Regions from separate parts of the Homo sapiens genome. Here region 2 is linked to region 1. Evidence: promoter capture Hi-C in 16 types of primary human blood cells and fetal thymus (Javierre and others, 2016). All regions are on one chromosome and are shown on one strand. Each heading gives the region's core, a stretch centred on a gene start or on the middle of the fragment in contact. The rest is flanking DNA. Distances are from core to core; before and after follow the strand shown.

Evidence for each region. Contacts are between HindIII fragments. The CHiCAGO score rates a contact against its expected background, and 5 or more counts as called.
Region 2: a contact is called between a fragment that was not itself captured here and the fragment with the promoter of RBP1 in region 1, in 1 of 17 cell types (M2 macrophages). The highest score is 6.0, in M2 macrophages.

The regions. Positions count from the first base shown.
Region 1 is chr3:139,537,255-139,544,539 of GRCh38, reverse strand. RBP1 (retinol binding protein 1) reads left to right here and starts at 4,798. Exons shown (of 4, transcript NM_002899.5): 1 at 4,798-5,080; 2 at 5,581-5,759. The coding sequence starts at 4,822. The region is part of intron 3 of COPB2-DT (COPB2 divergent transcript); the gene reads right to left. RefSeq lists an enhancer at 5,723-6,922. The HindIII fragment of the contact is 6,847 bases long and covers 2,644-7,285 here.
Region 2 is chr3:139,424,860-139,432,144 of GRCh38, reverse strand. All of the region lies in intron 3 of COPB2-DT (COPB2 divergent transcript), which reads right to left. Among named protein-coding and RNA genes, the nearest start is that of COPB2-DT, 39 kb to the right of the region's middle. The HindIII fragment of the contact is 695 bases long and covers 3,252-3,946 here.

The DNA of each region.
Region 1 (7,285 bases), core at 3,549-6,048:
GCCTCAAAATAATTTTGAAAATTGGGGAGTAGGTGGTGATATAGATGAAATGAGATTGGCTATGGGTTAATAATTGGTGAAGCTAGGAAATGAATCCATGGTGGCTCAATATACTATTCTCTTTAAGTTTACATACGTTCAAAATTTCCTATAATAAAATAAGAAAGAGAGAGAACAAAAAAAGGAGAGAAAGAAACCCATCTCTTGTACTGTATGTCATAATCTGAGAAACAAATATGTGATTGTATGAAGAGGGTCAGATAGAAAGTAGCTGACCCACACTGCAGAACCATTTTCTACACAGAAATAAATCCACCAGCCACCCTTGAAAGTGGGTTGAAGACTGTGGGGCCTGTAGACATGGTATGTCATTTGCATGTTTGAATATTCATGAACTCATCAAAGAGGAGTGTCCTCAGTAGACCTCAATGCCCCTTAGCCTCTGTGGCCTCTTGACAAGCTCTCTCACTCCCCTACACAGGAAGGCAGCTTTGTTGGGCCACTCTCATCCTTTCAGACATTAACCTCATAGATGGCATGGTAATGGCTCGGAGATTTGAGCAGGGTCATTCTCCATCGCATAACTCCGGAGACATATTTGAACACAGGAAAAAGGAAGATTTTAGAAGTCTCCAAGATAACAATGAGCCCTTGAGAAGAAAAGCAGGGACATGGTCTGAGAGACAGGGAAGCCAGATGAGAAATATTTTCTTATAAGTTGTAGAAGTATCAGGCCACCTTTCCCCTGCTAGGAGTGAATCTCTTGGCATGGGGCAGACCTGGCAGACAGGGTGGGATGAGACTGCAAGTCACCCCCTACCCCAGGATCTTGAGAGAAATATCTTCTGGGGGCTGGGGACAGAACCTCAGGGTCTGTTTCAGGGCTCTCCTCCAACCCCATTGCCTTTGGGAAGCTCTGCCACCCCAACAACTGGGGACCCTGGCAAGCTGCTTGATCTGCAGTGATACAGGCATAGTACTGCCCGCCTCACAAGGCAGGCGATTGAGGCATCATTTCATGGACCTATTTTTCTTTTTTCTTTTTCTTTTTTGAGATGGAGTTTCACTGTGATACCCAGGCTGGAGTGCAATGGCACAATCTCGGCTCACCACAATCTCAGCTTCCCAGGTTCAAGCAATTATCCTGTCCAGCCTCCCAAGTAGCTGGAACTACAGGTGTGTGCCACCACACCTGCCTAATTTTTGTATTTTTAGTAAAGACGGGGTTTCATCATATTGGCCAGGCTGGTCTCAAACTCCTGAACTCAAGTGATCTGCCCACCTCGGCCTCCCAAAGTGCTGGGATTACAGGGGTGACCCACCATGCCCGGCCCATGGACATATTTTTCTGAGCTCTGGTTTGTTCCTGTGGAGTTGACTGATCAGCTGAAAAATGAAAAGGCATATTTCCTTCCTATCCTCACAGGAAGGGCCTGCAGTGTCCCTGAGCTTCCCTCACTCAGGAGCTCACGCTGGAGATCCTTGGCTGTCTCCTCTCCTCCCCAACATAAAATTGTTCTTTGTGCCTGTCTAACTCACTCTATACACAGGCCAGGGTGGTTTCCCACTGGTCTGGCTCTTCTTTGTGGCCTTGGGAGCAATTTGAGCCCCCAAGAATTGGTTGTAGATCTCTGCTGCTCTTCTTTAAAGCTATTGAATAAAGCGAACCCCATTAGAGGTGCCTGAGTATACTGACATCTCTTTCTCTCAGTCATTTACAAGTTGGCCGTTGCTTTGGCACTCTGGCACTCCATTGCTCACCTGTCTCCTTGGTCACCTGGACTATCCTTCCTCCTCCTCATCTCTCTGATCCTGGCTGTCCTCAAGCTCCAGCTAGAGCCTCACCCCGTCCAGGGAGCCCTCACTGATTGCAAGCCCACACAGACACCCTCCTTCTTCTTTACATACTGTGTTCAGTTACTCTTTCTTTGCTTCACACATTCCAAGGAAGATTAACCCAGACAGAAAGGAGCTCCAAAAAATACTTTTTGTTTCCAAATCGAGAACCAAATGGATTAAATCAAGCACAACAGCATGGGCTGAGGAAGGATAACTTTGATGGTAGCTGATGCTTCTGAAGAGCATTTCCCATTTCAACTCATTAGACTGATCTTAAAGCCCCAGAAGAGGGGCACAAACCAGCACCCAGGCTCTCCCTTGTCTTTTCCCTCCCTTCTAGGGCCCCTCTGGCTCAAACAGCAGTGGATCTGGAACAGTACTCAGTGCCACGCCCTGTAGATTCCTCATCCTTTGCTTCTCAGCACCCTGAGAGGTAGTCAGAGTGTCCCCATTTCACAGATGTGGTGACTAAGCCACAAAGAGATCAAGTATCTTACCCCAAATCACTCTGGTAGACAGTGACCCAGCTAGCAAGAACAGGCATTCTGCCTCTAAAGCCTACACATGCAGCCTACCCTTTGCTGCAAGAAATAGCACAGCCACCAGGGGCTGTGCCTGGGAGGAGACCCAGAAGGGCAGGAGCGTACTGACCCATTTGGAAGACTAGACAAAGAGGTGGACAGACAGAAACTGAGTGAAACTAGCTGAATTAAGTGCTATATGTTCAGCTGACCAGGTCAGAAAAGTGAGATCAGGTGAGCAGAAGTTATCCAACGTGGTCAGAAGAGGGAGGAGTGGCAAGCTTGTGGTTCTTTGGGATGGACAAGAAGGACTGGAGAGGTGGGCAGGCCTCTGCCTCGAGCACGAAAGGGCCATTCCAAGCATGGCAGGGAGTCAGAACAGACTGGCCTCTGCTGTGTGCCAGGCACTGTGCTGAGCATTTGGCATAAACCATCTCAGGTGATTCAGCATAAAGGGAGAAGTTTGGGGAGGATGAGAAATCCGGCTAGCTGGGCTGGAGGCATCAGAGAGCAGGGAGAAGAGTTTAGACTAGTTGGAAGTGACCAAGGAATGGCCAGTTCACTGCTTAAGCCTTTGACCAATGCTCCATTCTGGTAAGTCAGGATAACAAGAAAGCCCAAAGCATGGCTGGCCCTGGTGGGATGCCTTACAGAACCTGGGCCAGGCCCCATCCATCCTTGCGAGGTGTCTTATTGCACCTTCAGGTTGGAAGGACTGGGATAGGTTGCCCTGAGTGCCCAGCCAAGATGAGCCCTGGGCTGGCTAGGGAGGGACACAGAGCCAGTGCTTGTGTGAACAACTGATGACCTAACCATCCAGAGCCAGACAAAGAAGCAGTGGGAAACAAGGGCCTAGAGCTGGCTCTCAACCAGGGCTGGTTTACCCAGCACCCACACCCCAGTGCCTTTGACAATGTCTGGCGACATCTTTGTGTCTGGGTGCCACTGGGATCTAATGGGTAGAGGCCAGGGATGCCACTAAATATCCTACAGTACACAGGACAGGCTCCTGTAACAAAGACTTATGTGGCCTAGAATGTCAGTAGCACAGAGATTAAGAAACAAATCCTAGTCTAGGGAAAGAGGGTGAGAAGCGCTGAAATCCAAGTTGCTGCCTGGGAGGAAGCTGTCTCTACCCTGAGGAAGAGGCTCCTTTTCCTAATTCAGCCTGCACTGTGAGAACACATGTGAGCCCCAGGGAGGCACCCTGGGGAAGGTGGTGCTAGAGGGGAAGAAAATGTTATCTGCTGTCACTTAGGCTGTGATTTGTGCAAAAAGCGATTTAAAAGAGGTAGTCAAAAAGAGGGTCAAAAAGTCAGCCCATGTGATTATGTCATCTACTTGGTGGCAAATGCAGTTAAACCACAATGACATACCCACGCAGGTGACAAAGGAGATGTGATCAAAGATTTTCATTGCAGTACTGCTTTTAATAGTGAAAGATCAGAAACAATATAGTTTGTCCATCAGGGGACAAGCTGGATAAGCAATGGAATACTCCGTAAAATAATGGGGATACTTTCTATGTACAGCTATGGAAAAGTCTCCAGAATATATTAAGTGAATAAAGCAAAGTCCAGAACACCGTGGAGTACAGTGCTGCCATTAGGTGAAACGGGAGGAAACATTAATAAACAGTATATTGCTTACATTTGCATAAAGCAGCAGTGGATCTCAAAGTTGATTGTGCATCAGAATCACCCAGAAGGCTTTTTTAGCCACATGCACTTCAAATAACATCAACTATTTTACTTATTTATTTATTTATTTATTGAGCCAGAGTCTCACTCTGTCGCCCAGGCTGGAGTGTAGTGGCACGATCTCGGCTCACTACAACCTCCTCCTCCCGGGTTCAAGCTATTCTCCTGCCTCAGCCTCCCGAGTAGTTGGGACTACAGGCGCCCGCGACCACGCCCGGCTAATTTTTTGTATTTTTAGTAGAGACGAGGTTTTACCGTGTTGCCCAGGCTGGTGTCGAATTCCTGACCTCAGGTGATCCGCCCGCCTCGGCCTCCCAAAGTGCTGGGATTACAGGCGTGAGCCGCCGTGCCCGGCATCCTTTCTTTTATTTTCGGGAGAGACGTGGAAAGTGCCCCAATTTTCTCGCCCGTAGTTGAACCTCCCAGCTTTCCTGACCCCAGCCACCACCGGCGCGAGGCTTTAGACAAAGGCCTGTAAGTGGCCTCTTTCCTTAATCACGCCAGCACAAACCCCAGGAGATTGTTTCCCAACTCCCGAGTGGCTGCTGAGTGTGAGAAGTTAATGGCGTTTGAAGGAAATCCCCAGCAGCCGAAGAGTTCGGCCAACAAAGCAAACGTCCCGTCTCCGGTCTCCTCTTCCTTTGTAGGGGAAACGAACTGAACGTCTGAAACGAAGGTGGCGCGGCCTGGACAAACCTGACCCTTCGACATCCCCCGCCCCTGCGCCCGCCCTCGCTAAGCGGGGAGGAGCGACCGCTACAATGGATCCTCCCGCAGGCTTTGTGCGCGCTGGGAATCCAGCTGTCGCCGCCCCGCAGAGCCCCCTGTCCCCGGAGGGCGCTCATTTCCGGGCCGCCCACCACCCGCGTAGCACCGGCAGCCGCTGTCCCGGCAGTCTCCAGCCGTCCCGCCCGCTTGTGGCCAACTGGCTCCAGTCACTCCCCGAAATGCCAGTCGACTTCACTGGGTACTGGAAGATGTTGGTCAACGAGAATTTCGAGGAGTACCTGCGCGCCCTCGGTAAGCGCTGCCCGCTGCGCCCTGGGCGCCCCGCCGAGCAGCTCCGGGCCGCTCCCTAGAGCCCTCCCGAGACGCTGCCTGCCTGCCTCCATCCCGGCGAGCCGCGGTCCGGTGCCCCCGGACGCCAGAAAGGGCGTCCTCGGCCACCGCTCCCAGGGCAGCCCCCAGGCTGCAGATTGGAGAATTCGGGGTTGTTAGGTTAACCGGTGGCAAATGTCTGCTCGTTGGCCCTGGAGGTGGGTAATTTCATTAGTAAATCTGGGGCTTGGTTTGCTACTTTTTGTTTTTAAACGGTTAACATAAGAGCAGAAAACTTTGTTGGGGGCGGCAGGGGAGGCACAGGCAGGCTGTGCGCAGAGACAACGCAAAGCCAGCGGGAACCCTAACAGTGTTCGCGGGCGGAGAGGGCTCCTGGGGCCCCGCTACCTTGGGAACGGTTCTCTGAGTTTCCCTGCCAACTCTCTGGCGCTCTCTCTCTCCCCGTTCAACCCCCACCGCAGACGTCAATGTGGCCTTGCGCAAAATCGCCAACTTGCTGAAGCCAGACAAAGAGATCGTGCAGGACGGTGACCATATGATCATCCGCACGCTGAGCACTTTTAGGAACTACATCATGGACTTCCAGGTTGGGAAGGAGTTTGAGGAGGATCTGACAGGCATAGATGACCGCAAGTGCATGGTGAGGATTCGCGTCCACCTGGTGTCTCCTGCCCAGGGGGCCTGACCAAGGGCTGGGCTAGTTCATCCGAGAGGGGGCAAGGGCCTGAGGGACTGAAAACTCTTCCCACTCTCAGCCCCCATGGTGGGCAGCACCAACTCATGAAGCATCCTGCTCTATCTACACTGGAAGGTGATGGTTATGAAGGCTGCCATGTGCTGTGTCTCCACTGCGTTCAGGCACTCTGCCCGGTGCTTTATGCACATGACTTCACCTAAGCCTCACACAGCCTTTGAGGGAGATATGAATATGCCCATTTTACAGATGAAGAAACAGTCTCAAAGAGATGAAGTAACATGTCCAGAGTAGCACAGCTAGGGAGGGTCTGGAGTTCAAAGCATGTCTGTTGATGCCGTTCTCTGGCTGACTGGGCTGGTGGAGGGTAAAAGAAAAGAAAGGAGGAAAGAAAAAAGAAACACAGGTAACCCCTTTGAAGTGTAAACTTTCAGTATGACTTAGTGTGAAGTCACTCCAGGAAGCTGGGGGCCCCTTGATCTCTGCTGGAAGCCCCCTGATCTGCCCATCCTTGCCCCAGAGCTGGGATTTGGCTCCTGGCCATCCCCTGCCCCACCCTGTCATCCAATGCCTACTGAGCATTCTTTGAACTTTGCAGCTGACACCTATTCAGTAAGTCAGGGCCCCTCCAGCCCAGACCAGAGGAAACAGCAGTGGGGGAAGAGGGAGGGCCAAGAGCTCCCTTCCACAAGGGTGGGAAACTCCTGACCCAGGACATCCCAATTAGTACTGCCACAGCAGATGCCGGAAGGCCAGCCCCAGGCCTCCATCAACATTATCTGGTTGCTGGGAGGTCAAGGTACTCTTGTTCTCCCTTTATAGTCTTGGGTTCAGAAGTGGCTTATGTTCATCCCAGGAGCCACCTTGCTTATTGATGGGGTCCTCACCCACCACCTCCCACCATTTACCAAGGGTCTTTACCGCTGGTCTGCTGTGTGTCCAGCACTGTGCTAGTCATCTTACAGCACAGCACAGTGAGGGAGGGATAAGTAACCCCATGTTATGCAGTGACTGAGGCTCAGACAGAGGAAGAGACTTGTAAGAGATGAGACTTGAGCCCTGGGCCTTCTGATGTTGAAGCCCACAGTCCTGCTTTCTGCCAGCTTCTCTGCTGGTAGTCTGTGCAGAAACAAGATAGCTGAGGTCTGTTAGGATTGTAGTTGAAGGGATGCCCATGTCTGGGAATAGGCATCTGGAGCCTGGATGACTCATCCCCCCACCTTGTCTATTCATCTGAAGGCAGTCAGGATTGGTATCTGAGTCTGCTGTTTGGAATGATGGGAAAGAGGGGGTAGTCAGCAGGGAGTGGCCTTGGAAGGACCACTAATGGGAGAAAACACCATTGTTGCAGAGAAATGTCAGGTTGTGCCTTTAAAAATCTCAAGGACTCTTAATCTGCAGGAAAGACTCACAATAGGAAAGGAGACCTTCAGATGGCATCTGCCTTTCTCATTACTGCCCAAGACCTGCTC
Region 2 (7,285 bases), core at 2,350-4,849, 110 kb after region 1:
ACTCTGCTTCCTTGAGGTAACTTTCTCTGCATTCTCCAATAGGGCTGAATTGCCTGCAGGGGCTCACAAGATGGCCCTTGGTACTTAACACAACAGCTACTGCTTGTGGTGGGCCTATTGCTTTACATGTAGGTGTTACACACAAAAATATTACATAACATGTACAAATGTAACATATGATTCTCACAACAAATAACATATTACTATCCTTATTTTACAGTTGAGGAAACTAGGCCCAGAAGTTTTAAGTGCTTTGCCCAAGACCACTAAATGAGGAAAAAGTAAAGAAGCTGGGACTTAAGCCCAGCTATGCAGGGGCTGGAGCCCTACTGTCCACACCTGACCATCTTCTACAGATCCAGGCTTAATACCCATTATACTGCTCCTGTGAGTTCCTGAACTCTGGGTTGTGTGACCATTTCAGTTGGATGGAACTGGCCTTTGTCATTTTTATGGAAATAAAAGAAGGGAGGTTTTCCTCAATAAATAGAGGATATAAAATAAGATTATAGGAATAATTTTTCCTCAGGCTTTTCATTTTAAAAAATTTCAAAGATACAGAATGCTGAAAGAGGAACACTTATATCATACATCTAGATTTAATAACTGTTAACATTTTGCCACATTTACTGTACTCAGTAGACTACACATTTTTCAGAATTATTTGAGAATAAGTTGCAGACATCAGTACACCTCACCCCTAAACACTTAAACACGTATCTCCTAAAAGCAAGGATATTCTCCTACAGAATGGTAATACCTAAGAAAGGGCAATACTTACATACTTTAGTCATACTAAATACTTTAATAATACTAATTATTAAATACTACTACAATAATAATACTACTAATAATAAAGTAATACTTAAGAAAATTAATAATTCCTAGTTTATAATATCCAGTTTAAATTCAAATATCCTTGATTGTCTCTAAAATGACTTTTTGAAAAGAAGCAGGATCCCATCAGAGATTGACACTTTGTCAATCTGTATAAGGACACCAGTCATAGTAGATTAGGGGTCCACCCTACCTCATTACAACCTCATCTTAACTAATAACATTTGCAATGACTCTATTTCTGAAGAAGCTCACACTCTGAGCTACTGGGGGTTAGGACTTAAACATGAATTTTGAAGAGGGACATAATTGAGCCCATAGCAACTGCAAGAGATTGATATTGTTATGTCTCTTTAGCCTCTTTTAATTGACAACATCCTCACTACTTTTGTTTTATGTTTTTATGACATTGACTTTTTAAACAGTACAGGGCTATTTTCTTGTAAATAGTCCATATTCTGGATGTGTCTCATTGTTTCCTAGCCTCCTAGCCTGTCAGTGACTGGCTGAGCCCAGGGAAGCAGAGCAGGGAGGAATTATGTGAATTTCATGGTAAATAAAAGTTGTGATGTGTGGAGAGGCAGAATGGTGCCTTGGCAGAGAGCAGGACAAGCATTCAGGAGACCTGGCTTCAAAGCCCAACCACTGCCTACCAGTTGTCTGCCTCCTTGGACTTCCCCACCAACCCACCATGCATAATGGGGGACAGGCCCAGGTGATGTACATGGTTAGCAAATACAGCCTTAGGGAAGGGCTCAAAAAAGGATAGGAGCCCATGAGAGAACACAACAGTAAAATTGAAGGCAACCCCATTGGCCAAAACCGGAATGAATTGAGAAATAAGTAAACAAGAAAAGTATTGCATTATAATTCATAAAATAAATATCCACGATTCCTTACTGATATAAAAATAAAAATTCCAAAAATAAATTGGGAAGAAGGGATAGTTCTTACTTACAGAAGAATTCCAATTAATAAATGTAGATGAAATGGGAAAATATTTTTAAAAGTCACCATTAGGCAAACACCACAGTAATAATTATTACAGGCAAAAATCTACCAATGGCTGCTCAAATTAGTATAAGAAATTTTGAGGAGAAACAAAATAGTTGCATAGTGTCAAATACGTCCTTCAAGATATTCACTAATTATGAAGAGAAAAATGGTAATTTTACAGTGAAGAAAGCCAGCAGATACTGCCTTCACCAAATGATCAAGGTTAATTATCACCAGTAATAAGACTTATTGACATCATGTACTCCCTGATCCATAGACTGAGGTCATATCACCGTTGTATGCCTGCCAAAAATGCATAACCTCAATTCAATAGTGAGAAAACATCAAGCAAACCCCGATTGACAGTTATTCTGCAATATAACTGACTTGCCTTATTTAAAAGTGGCAGGGTCACAAAAGACAAGGAAAGACTGGAAAGACTGAGGAAATGTCACAGATTAGAGGAGACCAAGGAGACATGGCAACTGAATGCGATGTGAGATCCAATCAATGAAAGAACTGGTGAAATTCACATTAGGCCTGTTGCTTGATTAATAGTAATTAATAACACTCATAACATCACTAATAGTACCCATGTTAATTTCATGGTTTTGATCACTGTATTATGGTTATTTAAGATGTTCCTTTAACATTTAGGGAAGCCAAGCAATGCATATATGAGTACTCACTGTACATTTTTTGCACCTTTTCTGTAAGTCAAAATTTGTTTCAAAAGAAAAAGTTAAAAAAAAAATAGCCACATGTGTAAGTAAAGTTGAAGGTCTCCTAGCCACTGTGGTCTGAAGGACACAGATGAAAGTCCCCTACCTTCAATGTTTTCCCCTCCAGCAGCCTGTCAAGACGCCTGAAATCCCACCATTCAAAACACATTACTTTCTTTTTCTTTTTTTTTTTTTTTGGAGACAGAGTCTCACTCTGCCTCCCAGACTGGAGTGCAATGGCGTGATCTCCGCTCACTGCAACCTCCGCCTCCCAGGTTCAAGCAATTCTCCTGCCTCAGCCCCCTGAGTAGCTAGTATTACAGGCGTCTGCCACTACGCCCGGCTAATTTTTGTATTTTTAGTAGAGACAGGGTTTCATTATGTTGGCTAGGCTGGTCTCGAACTCCTGACCTCAGGTAATCCATTACTTTCAACGAATATTTTGTGTTTCTGAAAGTCCAGAGAGTCACGTAATGTATTTATTGAGCACTTTCTATGTTCAGGGACCTACTAGGTACTAGGGATAGGTAGTGGATAAGGCAGACAGCACCTCTGCCCCACTAGAGCTTATATTCAGCTGTAGCCTCTTAGTACAATGTTAAGATGAGTTGGTTTGCTTCAATTCCTACAGAGGCCATAAACCAGGATCCTAAGAAGAGGTAAATTTGGGTAAGTGAAAGAGGGGAGGCTAAAGCTTAGAGCATACAGCTGCTGAAAGATTTAAGAACTAAGCGTGACACTGAGACAAGTAGGATGGTGCACGAGGAGAAATACAGTTTGAGGAGTTGAATACACATGAAAACTGAATTGAACCTAAAATAATAATAGCCAACCCCTGGAAAGCACTGGTTATGTGGCAGGTACTGTTCTCATGAATTTATATGTATGGTAACTCCTTAGACCCTCACGGCAGCCCTGTGGGGCAAGGTACTGTTATTATCCCCTTTTGCAGATAAAGGAGCTGAGGCGCTGAGGGTCGCACAGCTGGTACGTGCTGGATGGAGTTGGGCCATGGGCCTGGGTAGTTTGTCTCTAGAGACAGTACACCTCACACGCATGGACTGCTGCTGTTCCCAGAGCTGAGCGACAACACTTTGGCACAGAGAAGGAAGGAGAATGGCAAAGCCAAGATCAAGTCCTCGTATCTAGGTCTAAAGGAGAGAAGAAGAAGAGGAAGAGGAAGAGGAAGCCGAGTCTTGCTTTGTGTGAGTGCTACTATGTCTTAAGCAGGATACCCAGTGCTTTCCCTGTATTAGTATCTAAAATTCATGCTTCTGAGATACTGTCATTCTCATTTTACAGAGGAGGCTTAGAGAGATGAAGTATTTTGCCCAAGGTCACATAGTTCTAGTAACAGGTGAAGCCAGGATTTAGCTGATTTATGGAAAGCTTTAGATTTGGTTGCTCTCAGTCTCACCACTGGCCTAGCACTAAATAAGCATGTGTTTCTCTCTCCCTCTCTCTCTCTCTCTCTCTCTCTCTCTCTCTCTCTCTCTCTCTCTCTCCTCTCCCCCCACCTTCCCTCTTCCTCTCCCTCCCCCTCTCCTCTCACACACTAAAGTTAATTATTTAATGCCCGTAATATATATCTTGAGGATGGCATTTTGCAGCACTGAGCTTTAAACAGTACATGTTTAAATACATTTAATCCAATGAATATTTCAAGGTAATTAATCTCCACAGCGTGAGAGAATGTTCAGGTTTCCCAGCACATCAAAATACATCTGAATCAGCTGAGGAAATGATTTGCACACTCTGCAGTGGGTTGAGAAAGATTCACTTAAAGACTTTCAGATCTGACTCCCTGGTGTTAACGAGCAGAAAGGCTGCTAAAGAGAAGGATTAAGGCGCCTCCTAGTGGTTATATTTATGCAAGGAGAGAATATGGCTAACAACTATTGGGCAAGAGGACTACTTGTTTGAGTTGGCTGGGGTGGAAGAGTTTTGTTTTGTTTGTTTTTGTTTTTGTTTTTGGAGAGTACTATCCTGCAAATGTGTGCACATACACATATGTACACACATGCATAATTCACATAATTTTTGTGTATCAAATACACATCACCATGGTACGTGGCACCCGTGTTATATGCTACTGTTTTATGAGTGTGGGAGTATGGTGGAATAACAGTGGGTGAGAATTTGCATGGGTGCCTACCCACATGATTTTGCCTGGACTCTCTAACCCTTCTGCAGGTGTTGAGATGACTATATTTGTTGAAGATTTAGTTTGAGCCTATAGAACTCAATGGATGGAGTTAATTGGCCTGATTTCCAACTCATGACGTTAATAGTAGTAATAGCTGCCATCAACTGAAGGATTATAGCTGTGGCCATATATATGTGTGGGTTTCATATGCTATATCTATATATTACTATACATAGTTATAGTTATTACTATAATATATAATACAGTAATTATTACTATATTACTATAATAATAACTATATCTAGTAATATACAGATAGCTATATATACATATAAATGTGTATATATAATCCCATGTGATCCTCTTGTCAATCCTGTAAGAGATTAGTGTCATTAACCCACATCACTGATGAGAAAACTGAGGCTCAGAACTTGAGCAACTTTTCCAAAGTCACACAACTTGTCAAAACCAGGCCTGCTGATTCCTGAGTCCATGTTATTAACTTTATACTGCCTCTGCATCACATTTCACACGGCAATGAACTTGTGCTAGCAGTATCAAATCAACTAATATTTATTATTTACCTGCTAGAGGCAACCTACTAGTAAAAGACACTGTGCTTGGTACTGTTGAGGGAACACACACACACACACACACACACACAAATTATGATGCCTATCCTCAAAAATTTAATAGTTTTATTGAATAAGATAATAAAGATAATAAAGACTTTAAAATTTAAGTCTTTTTTGAAAAAAAAATATTTAAGGTGACAGAATAACCTTAGAAGATAGGGCATTAGACAACACTTATTTAATTGCCAAATAAATAAGAATTACCATGGGGAAGGTCAATTCAGCGGGTATTTGAGCTGGGTTTTGAAAGTTGAGTGAGCGAAAGGGGCAGGTAGTGCTTTCCTGAAAGGAGGCTACTCCAGAGAGCCATGAAACACGGTGAAGTAGCCAGAAAACACTGGGCTGGGGACCTGGAGCCCCAGAGACTCAGTCACAGGCCTGCTGAGGACACTTAGGCAAGGCATCGTTGCCTCTTTACACCTCAGTCTCACCATCTGTACCTTTAGGCAATTGGCCCCACTCAGAACCTCTTTGGCCTAAAATTCTACATTCCGTAAGTCTAGCAATTTGAACTGAGTCATAGTCCATAAAGGACTACAGAGTGTCAGGAAGTTTTATTAGTGGTGGAGTGGCTGAGCTGTCATTTCAACCTGCTCACCATCTGGAGGAAAAAGGGGCAATACCTCTCATCCACACTCATAAACATGCTGAAGGGTTCCTTTCATGGTTAATGGCAGCACACCCTCTGGCACATGCGGAAGGACCAAAGATATGCAGTACCATTACCTAGATGGTGGGTATGGCATTACATATCAAGATGTTTTTCCTAGCATCATGATTTGGTGCCTTACACACGTCACTGTGTAATAGAAAAAAGACGGTATCATTGGGAACCCGACCTGAAAAAACAGCCCATTTGTGTACTTTCCCATGAATGGTTTGTAGTTCTCCACATGCACATTCTCATTTTATCTCCAGACCTTGGAAAATGCTGCTATCTCTGCTTGGAACAAACATACACACTCATACTCATGCACACACTCCTGTGCACATATACCTTTATTCATAATATTCAGTGGCATTTATTAGGAGGTATGAATCCCAGATGATAGCTCAAGAGCACAAGCAACATACTTTATTTATAGGTTAATACAGAGCAGAGTCCCTATTCTGGTAGGTGGGAAGCAAATTTGGAGCATCTCTCTGTCCTCTTGATTACATCTAGATTCTGGGGCGGAATGAGGGGGAGCTTATGTAATGTCCTTGATGTTTCCTGTCCACACTAGCTGAGAGATCCCCTGAGCTATCTGTTAGGGAGTTCACTGTGGAGATGTTCCTTGTTCCCAGCTCTCAAGCTTTCTTAGTGGCTTCTGTGCCCAGTCCCTGGCACACAAAAAATTACTCTGCCATGCCCTGCCGTGCCACATATGGTGCCTTCTCTACTCCCTCATACACCCCTCACAGCCACTTCCATCCCTCTCTGGGTAATTCTAGCCCTCCTGGGCCTTTATGCAGGAAAAAGGCACATGGGCCTTTAGCTCTTGGGCTCCACAAATCTATTTGGTGCTTCTGTGGTCTTTTCCCCAGGGATATATCTAAAAACTCAAAAGGAGAAGACTCCTCTTCAGGACCAGCAGTAGCTTGACTTTCCTTCCCCACCCCTCCTTTCTCTAGGAATTCTTTCTGAATTTCAGAAGTTGGAAGCTTTCAGAAAGCTTCTTCGTGCAAGAGTTCAGTCCAATCAGGAGAATGCCCTAGGCAGGTTCATAATAAGGAACATACAATAAAATAACTGATCTCTGGAGGTGTCAAGATCATACAAAAGACAAAGAAAGACCCAGGAACAATTGGAGACTGTCAGAGAACAGGGAGAAATGACAATCAAATACAATGTGGTATGTTGAATAGTATCCTGGAACAACAAAAACCAAAAAAAAAAAAAAAATACATTAGTGGAGGCCAGGCGCTACGGTAGCTCATGCCTGTAATCCCAACACTTTGGGAGACCG